Regions from separate parts of the Homo sapiens genome. Here region 2 is linked to region 1. Evidence: promoter capture Hi-C in human tissues and cell types (Jung and others, 2019). All regions are on one chromosome and are shown on one strand. Each heading gives the region's core, a stretch centred on a gene start or on the middle of the fragment in contact. The rest is flanking DNA. Distances are from core to core; before and after follow the strand shown. Region 1 holds the start of SPATS2 (spermatogenesis associated serine rich 2). Region 2 has its middle 31 kb from the start of TUBA1C.

Region 1 (4,317 bases), core at 316-2,815:
GTGGTGTCTAGCTATACACTGACACACACTCTCCAGCTTGTTGGTGCCTTTTCAGAGCCCCTTTGCTTGGCCTCAAAAGGTAAGATGAGGACAAATTCTAATATATATATATATTTTTTGAGATGGAGGGTGGAGTGCAGTGGTGCAATCCCGGCTCACTGCAACCTCCGACTCCTGGGTTCAGGTTATTCTCCTGCCTCAGCCTCCCGAGTAGCTGAGATTACAGGCGTGTGCCACCACATCCGGCTAATTTTTGTATTTTTTGTAGAGACGGGGTTTCACTATGTTAGCCAGGCTGGTCTCGAACTCCTGACCTCAAGTCATCCGCCCGCCTCGGCCTCTCAGAAGTGCTGGGATTACAGACGTGAGCCACCGCGCCCGGCCCCAGATTCTAATAAATATTTTCAATGCTGACTGTCTAAATCCCTCTGGCCCCTCTTAATAGACCCCTGACCAGTCGACACTGAGGTAAGTGCTTTATGCATGCAGAAAGGGTGCACAAATACTAGTTAGTTCCAGCACCAGGGAGGTTGGGAGTCTGGCGTCGAAGAGAGTATTTAACAGAAAAGATTCGAAGGGCGGCGGGACCGACCACCGCCGCGTAGAGGGGCTATGCTGACAGCTGGGTAGATCAGAAACCCGACTGACGATCCCGAGGTCATTCTTCCCGCGCCCCCACCGGCCTCTGCGCTCTCTCAGGAGGCAGAGCGACCGCGCGGTCCGGAGGCCCCAGCGTTTCCCGTCGTTGGCGACTCTGAAATTGCCTTTTGGAACAAAACTTGGGTCGGGAAGGAGGCGAAGGGGAAAGCGGTGTGAAGTCCTCGGTACGGAAGAGTGAGCGGCGCTGTACCCGGCGGCCAGAGAAAAAGCTTCCCAACCCGGACATTGAGCAAAAGCCCCGCGCTCGACTCCCCTAGCGGCGCCCGCGTTCGGCCACCTCCGGGGGAGTTTCGGCTCTTTCCGTCAGTTCAGCTCGGGCCCTCCGTTCCCGGCGCGCGCCGGGTCCCTAACCGATGCCGCCGGGTACGAGCTGTGCTGCACGCGGACGCGAGCTCGCGTCCCACCCGTTTTCCCCTTCCATCTACTTTGTCCCCAACCCTCTCCCCGAGTCTCTTCCTTTCCCCGGTAATTCCCAGTCTCCGGTGGCGCGCGAGCCTGCGGACGGTGCGAGACGCGAGGGACCGGGCCCCGAGAAGAGCGGTAACCCGACTGGTCGGAGCCCGCCTCTCGCCGCCCCGCGCCTCTCCCCGATCTTCTCGGTCTCCGGTGCGCGGGCCGTCTCGCCGCTCGAGCCGCGCTCGCGCACCCGTTGGCTGCCACAGCCTCGAGCTTGGCGCGCCGGATTCGCGCCGGCGCGAGTACGCGCCCTGAGCTCTGGCTGGCTGGCTGGCGCGCACGCGCCCGAGAGGGCTCCGGGGCGGGGCGAGCCGCTGCCTGGGCGAGGGTCGGGGTGATCTGCTGGATCTCCGGCAGCATCCTGCAGTCCGGCCCAGGAGAGAAGTGGGGAGGCGGCGGTGGGGGCGGGGCGGCGTCCGGCTCTGAGAGAGCTGGGGGAGGAGCGCGGCGGCGACGGCGGCGGTGGCTCTAGAAGGGGAGGTGGAGGATCTCCTTTCCTCTTCTCAGACCCGGGAGCGTCCGGGACGCGGAGCCCGGAGCTGGGGCGACGAGGCGATTGCGGGGGCCTGGGCTAGGTGAGGCTAAGGGTGCTGGGTGGCGGGGTTGGCGGGGGCTCAGAGGGCGCCGAGGTGCGGGGAGCGGGTTGAGGGAGGAAAAAGAGGGAGGGGGTAGTTGGGGGCGGGGGGACGGGAAGGAGGGGGATGTGAGCCCTTAGAGGCCCGAAGTGCCCAGAGGGTGGAAGGTTCCTGGGGTCTGTGGGGCGGGTGAAACACCCGCGTCGGAGTTGGGGAGTTTCCAGACGGATAGGCCGGGGAAACAATGGAGTGTGGGGGGGACTCTGGCGTGAGCGTGTGTGGGGTATTGGATTTTAAGAAACAACGAGCGAGATAGAACGAAAGAATAGGATCATTTGGGATGAGAAGTACAATGAATTAGGAATGCAGTAGGGATGCGTAAGGTCACCTCCGTGGCTGTGCGAGGTCCTTAGCATTCGGGGGCAATAATGAGATTTGAAAATAAGGGAGAGAAGGGCGTTCTTGGAATTGAAGGGGGAGACGAAATGGAAAATCAGGCGAACAGACGCAGAGACATAAAATAGATGTGGTTAGGACTTGGATTAAAGCAGAAAGGTAGATTCAGTCAGTTTTGGACTACAGTGATATTTTTCTCATAATTCATCCAGAATGATTAGGTTCTTTTAGAAAGTGGATCTTTCTCAAGCTTGTCCCTCTGTTAAGGAGTACAAGCCGTTCTTTAAATAATTTGATTATCGCTTGTCCATTTTATTGATAAAACATGCCTGTGATATTTACTTCCCCTCTGTTTAGCAGGCTACTGTTCCTAATTTACCTACGGTTAATGAAGCAGGAGAGGACAGATCACCAAAAATATCTTGCTTTAAGTTAGGTCAGTGATAATGCAGATTTCAGTGTTTTGGAGAGAACCAAAAGCTTGGTTGTTTGTTTTCAGTTTGACCAAAAGGTGATGGATAAAATTAAGTTACCTGTACTTTGTTAGAATTGCAATTTCTCACTGAGAAATGTTCTTGTGCCATCTGCTACTGGTTTTGTGTTTGTGGGAGAGAGTTGGGGTTCTGCCTTAAATTATTTCTTGATGTTAACTTCAAATAGGCTGCCTCATACCTTCCAGTTTCAATTAAGGTGATTTGGGAATATTGATTATGATGTTTGCATTTCCTTAATATTTGGATTTCCAGACCAAATTTGTGATTGTACTAGATAGAAAATTGCCGATTTTGAAATTGTAATGACCATTGTGTGCTCCTAAGTAGTCCATGTTAAGCCTTTTATTTGTTGGGCATTAAGTTTTGCTGACTCATCTAAGATTTATGGACATTAATCAGTTTGTATTTCTCAGCTAGGTCTTGGATGGTAGCATTTAGGTTACTTTACAAAGGTCCAAAAATAATGATTTAAATTGTTACTTTTCTTAGATGTTATGAAAATTGAACAAAGCAAGAAATGAGTGCAGTGTTCTCATTAGTGACAATGTGCCTCTTTTTTTTTTTTTTTTTTTTTTTGAGATGGAGTCTTGCTCTGTTGCCCAGGCTAGAGTGCAGTGGCGTGATCTCGGCTCACTGCAACCTCCATCTCCCGGGTTCAAGCGACCCCAGCCTCCCAAGTAGCTGGAATTACAGGTGCCCGCCAGCACGCCTGGCTAATTTTTGTATTTTTAGTAGAGACGGGGGTTTCACCATCTTGGCCAGGCTGGTCTCGAACTCTTGACCTCTTGATCCATCTGACTTGGCCTCCCAAAGTGTTGGGATTACAGGCGTGAGCCACCGCAGCCTAATGTGCCTCTTTTTTAATTGACCTCTTTCAGTGGGCTAGCCAAGGTGCTAAGATTTTTTTGTATGTATTATCTCATTCAATCCTCACAATTATTTCATATTTTGTAAATTAAGAGGTTAAATAATTTACTAAGGTCACAGAGCTAGTAAATAACAAAGCTTTATTCAGACCTAGCTGTATCGGATGCCTTTTTTAAAATCTTCACTACCTGTTTGCTCTTTCTGCTTCACCCTCATCTTGGTTATAGTAAAGCAGCATGAACTGGTTGAAACTTGGGTCTGATAACTGTGATTTAGATGAAGATTAAGTTAGTAGGCTGTAGCCTACTCTGTGGAGTTCATTGAAGGTTTACTGCTCCTGTGATTTAACAAAGGTCTGGGATCCTGATAAATAGGGCTAAAAACATCTTTTTGCTTAGGATTTGTCCTGCGACCACACTTAGTTTTCTGTTTAGTCTTATACTGCTGAGGTACTGTGCATACGTGGCACTCTTACTTGTAGAAGTCAAGACAGCCAGTTGTGGAGCCAAACCAATTAACTCTGGAAAACAATTGAAAACTGCTCAGTACTCAGGTGCCCTTGAGCCCACAATTGGTACTAGCATTACCTCTAAATATAGATAGGATCCTTTTAGAAACCAGGAGTGAAACAACTAGAACTGAGGGAAACAGCTGGGGCCTGAGGGAGGAGCCACAGGTTATGGCCAAAACATGAGCATAGCCCCTGGAGGCCGATCAGGCTAAGACAGGAGGGAATTTTCGTTTGTTGAGCATTTATGTATTCCAGGCGCTGAACTCAGTGTACATTATTACCTTATCTGTTAGTTGTAAGTATTATCCTTATTTTTCAGATGAGGCTCAGAAGGGCTAAAAGTAACTTACACAAAGTC
Region 2 (4,572 bases), core at 1,513-4,012, 130 kb before region 1:
CAGCCTCCCAAAGTGCTGGGATTACAGGTGTGAGCCAGCACTAATTTCTTTTTTAAGTATTCCGAGTGACCACTGCATGTGTAATACCTTGCTGGGCACTGTGCGAAATATAAAGGAAGTGCGAAACAGGGCTCTTGCCCTCAAAGTGCTTACAACTTTTAAATTTAATCTCCTTAACACTGGAGAGAACACGGCGTAGTATTGTGAACGTATGTGCCATGGCTATTTTTCTTTAAACTTCTGCTACTTAAAAAAAATAGATGATAGATAGATAGATAGACAGACAGACAGACAGACAGATAGATAGATAGATAGATGGAGTCTCGCTATGTTGACTAGGCTGGTCTCGAACTCCTGGCCTCAATTGATCCTCCCATCTCAGCCTCCTGAAGGGCTAGGATTACAGGCATGCACCACTGCGCCTGGCCTTCTGTTACTTTCAGAGGCATCCATAATTCTTGGACACCTGCTCATATGTTCTGTGTCTAGCTTCAGAATTATTGTAGAAGCTTGCCTGAACGTCACCTATAGAACCTGAGCCATTAGATCATCTATCCCTAAACGCTAATGCTGGGCTGATTTCCTGGCTGGGGGTGGCTCTCATTTCCTCCAGAGGGCCTGACAGAAGGAGGACAAGAGCTGATTGGGAGGAGCTGCCCTCAGGGCCACCCAACGCTTGCTTTCACAGTAACCTGCAGATAGTCCCTTGTTCTGGACACAACAGGAGTGGATATTTAGCAAGCAGATGAAATCCAAAGAGCAGAAACTGTCTGAAAGGGCCTGAGGATGCTGTGTGAAGGGAATGAAGCAACCTCATTTTTGCGGATAAATTCCCCGGAAATAAACCTATAGTATTTACAAAATGTCCACCTTGTCCTTCTCAGCACAGTAAGCTTTCTCTGACCCACAGAACCCATTTTCTGTTTGGATATGAACTCATTGCAGCCTGCCCAACATGAAATTCCAACTGGACATAAAAGGGCACTTCAGCTGTCAAGCCACGTGTGGATTTCGGTTTAAGAATCAGCCCAGGCAGCAGATGCTCCAAGTGCTTGGGGAGTGGCACGCCTATTCCTGATACAGAAGTCAGGCACCCTTTGTCTTGATCCCCCACTTAAATCAGGGATAGGCAATTCTGAATTTTTAAAAAGGCGCTATGTTAAATCCTTCTTATGAGAAAAAAATATCACTTATAATGTAGAAAGTTGAGGTTTCTCAGAGAGCTCTCCCTTTTACTGCTGAAGGGGCTTCTCAGCAGGCAAAGATATCTGCTCAGTAACTTATACTTCTGTGAAGAAGAGATTCCTAAGTGTAAGATGTATGACTTGTCGTTTTGGGGTTAAGTACAATCCCAAACACTCTGTCTCCACCACCTTTTTTCTGGAGGTGTTCTTTTTATTTTATTTTTTCAAAGTGGGGCACATTTCAGAAATTTTTGCTGGGAAACTCAGAATACAAACTTAACGGCATGTTAAAATTCTAAAAATAGTTTGACCCTGCATTTCACAGAGTTCAGGGCTTCAAAACTGTGCTGTCCAAACATGATTGGTGATTAATTGATTTTGACCCCCTGCAAGAAGTGAAAGCAGCTGGTTTACGAGACTTGAGAGACAGCCGATTTTCCAAGGGAGAACAAAGAAAAAGTGGCCACCCCTCCCCGCTGGGAGCGCGCTTTGCTTTGTCTGAGCGGACTCTCTCCAGGGACTGCCGCCGGGGAGGCTCAAAGCTGTGTCCTTGCGATTAGTTTGGTACACTTGGTTCAGCAGCCTGGGGAATGTGGGGAGATGTGTGCCTGCACAGTATCAACGTTATCAGCTGCCCTGTTCATGTCGCCTCTCCCTGAAGGACACTTTCATAACACAGTAACACTTAGGAGAAGGTTCCCCTCCTTTACTTCTGTTTCTCTGCTGATAAACAAATGTCAGGCATCTTCCTGGATCCGGGCCCTGATTCACTAAGTTACTGTATATCCATTGCCCTTTTTTGTCCTCCAAACACTGAGCTCTCAGTGCTCTTCTGGCTGGATCCAGATTGTGAAGATTACAGCCCCACTGGTTCCTTTCAGGACTTGGGGGCCCAACATTCCATCTCCAGGGCCTCAAGGAGCCTTCCATTCCTGATGGGTTCCCAATTACCGTGTTTCTGGTGCTACCAGACAAAAGAGAAGGCCCTGTTTTGACCCAGAGCCCTATAGCTGTGCCCTGATGGGAGATGGGAATTTTGATGTCTGACAACCTGATCAACAGCGTGACTCCTAGACCGAGTGAACCGTGGTCCGTCCACGAGCCTTCATCACTAGAGGAAAAACGGAGATGAATGATTATGACGCTTGAAGCAACGAACCTCTGCAAGTAGGAGGGTCCGGAAGGTTATTCCGGAATCACTGGGCAAGGTGAAGGGCAGGGCTGCGTAAGCGAAAGCGTCTGCTCAGTGCAGGGCAGCATAAACTCTGCAACATAAAAAGAGGGAAGCTGAGCTCTGGCATCATCTTGCGGGTTGCAGTTCCCGGCAACAGGGCTGGCTCCAGAGCAGAAGCGCAACCCGTCATCTTCCTGCGGGCCGCAGCCATAGGTGGAGAAAGGTGGTACCACAAGGCTCTCCCACTGGATGACGGTGACGCGCAATAAGCAGATGATTGCAGAGGCTCCTGTCAAATGGGTGCAGAGAAAAGGGAAGTGGGGAGAGGAGGAGGGACCTAGAAATGGCACTGCAACGATCCTGGAATAAAAACGAGGGGCCACAGTCAGAAATGACAAACGCCTCCACCTTGAAACGCAACCCCTAGCCCATTTATCCAATTTGCCTCTGATAACTGCTTTTAATATGTTGTAAATCCCATTAAAGCAGGAGAGAATAAATGAAAGCAGTCCCCTACCAGGTTCTAATTTTCATTCTCCTTTAGCATTGTCTTAAATAACAAGGACACCCTAAAAATCAAGTCCACCCTGTTTAGCTGTGGCAAGCGCTAAAAACCGTTAAGTTCGTTGAAACACTACTCTCCAAACCAGAGTAGGCTTCCAGGTTTCTCTGCAGAGCAGAAAGGAGGCTGTGGTTGTGTCCATGACTTTGCTTCCTTGGTTAGTACGGTGACGTGCAGCGCCAGGGCCTGGGCCTGGGCTCGGGCTCCCACCCGCGTGGCGCCGCAGTCCTGGCGAGCCCCGAGCGCTCTGTCCCCGGTGACCAGCAGGCGGCGCTATCTCCAGGCCGCAGCCGCCGCCCCGCCCGCCACGAAGGCCACTTCCGCCGCGGCCCGGCGAGCGCGCCCCCGCCACGCCCTGCTGTTTAGAAGCGGCCTTTCTTCACATATCGCTGTCCGCGAAAGTTTCTGAACTCTTGTGACAATTAATGCTGTTTGAAAACCTCCCTCTTGGGTCTTTTGGAAGAGTGGACATCCTAAAAAAAATTTTCTTTTTGGAGACGGAGTATTGCTTTTGTTGCCCAGGCTGGAGTGCACTGGCGCGATCTCGGCTCACTGCAACCTCCGCCTCCCAGATTCAAGCGATTCTCCTGCCTCAGACTCCCGAGTATTTGGGATTACAGGCACCCGCCACCACGCCCATCTGATTTTTGTATTTTTAGTAGAGACGGGGTTTCACCATGTTGGTCAGGCTGGTCTCGAATTCCTGTCCTCGTGATCCGCCCGCCTCGGCCTCCCAAAGTGCTGGGATTACAGGCGTGAGCGACTGCGCCCGGCCAAAAAAAAAAAAAAAATTAATTTGGGATTGCGTAATCAAAAAGTCTTTTAGACATCTCAAATGCATTGCAACTTATTCGAATAAAAAGGGCTCCTGACACGGACAAAAAGGCAGTATAGGTTGAAAATTAGAATGCTTAAAAAAAAAAAAAATTCCCCTTCCTGTTAGTTCCAGATTTTTCTGCAAGCTTGGAGGACAGCTCGCGAAAATTCAGCTGGGGCGCCATCTGCTGGACGCGCCGCGCCGCTGCAAGGCCCTTTCCGGAAAGGTGTCGGGGTTGCAGGTCAGCGCCCCATTTTTTGTCCAGGAGAGACTCGCTGGCACCTTGGCTGGACCAGGCTGGGCGCAGTGGCTCACACCTGTAATCCCAACACTTTGGGAGGCCGAGGCAGGTGGATCACCTGAGGTCAGGAGTTTGAGACCAGTCTGGCCAACATGGTGAAACCCCGTCTCTACTAAAAATACAAAGAGTAGCTGGGCCTGGTGGTGCGCGCCTGTAATTCCAGCTACTCGGGAGGCTGAGGCAGAATTGCTTGAACCTGGCAGGCGAAAGTTACAGTTCGCCTGGGAGGCGAAAGTTGCACTCCAGCCTGGGTGACAGGGTGAGACTCGGTCTCAAAAAAAAAAAAAAAAAAATCTTACATAGTTTTTAAAAAATAAAAAGAGACCAGGCTGACTCTCTGCAAGAAAGTGGCCTGTGTTGAGGAGCCCTCGGGCCTCAATGAGTCGTCATTTGTTACATTGCTGGTCTCTGAGGAAAACCTGAGGCTCAACTCATTTAATTTCCTCCACCGGCCCACGGGCACAGGGCTACAAACTAAAACTATGCTTTCCATCAGTGCACACAGCGGGTTTCAGGGACAGAAATCACAATGTG

What was found. Contacts are between HindIII fragments. The study calls those that stand out against the background at their distance.
Region 2: a fragment that was not itself captured here is called in contact with the fragment with the promoter of SPATS2 in region 1 in 1 of the 25 tissues and cell types used here (hippocampus).

What each region holds. Positions count from the first base shown.
Region 1 is chr12:49,365,897-49,370,213 of GRCh38, forward strand. It overlaps SPATS2 (spermatogenesis associated serine rich 2), which reads left to right and starts at 1,566. Exons shown (of 14, transcript NM_023071.4): 1 at 1,566-1,691. RefSeq lists enhancers at 646-905, 3,942-4,081 and silencers at 1,196-1,675, 1,696-1,745, 1,776-1,845. The HindIII fragment of the contact is 7,261 bases long and covers 1-1,603 here.
Region 2 is chr12:49,231,421-49,235,992 of GRCh38, forward strand. It overlaps a transcript of TUBA1C not described here. Among named protein-coding and RNA genes, the nearest start is that of TUBA1C, 31 kb to the right of the region's middle. RefSeq lists a silencer at 3,057-3,346. The HindIII fragment of the contact is 6,126 bases long and covers 1-4,572 here.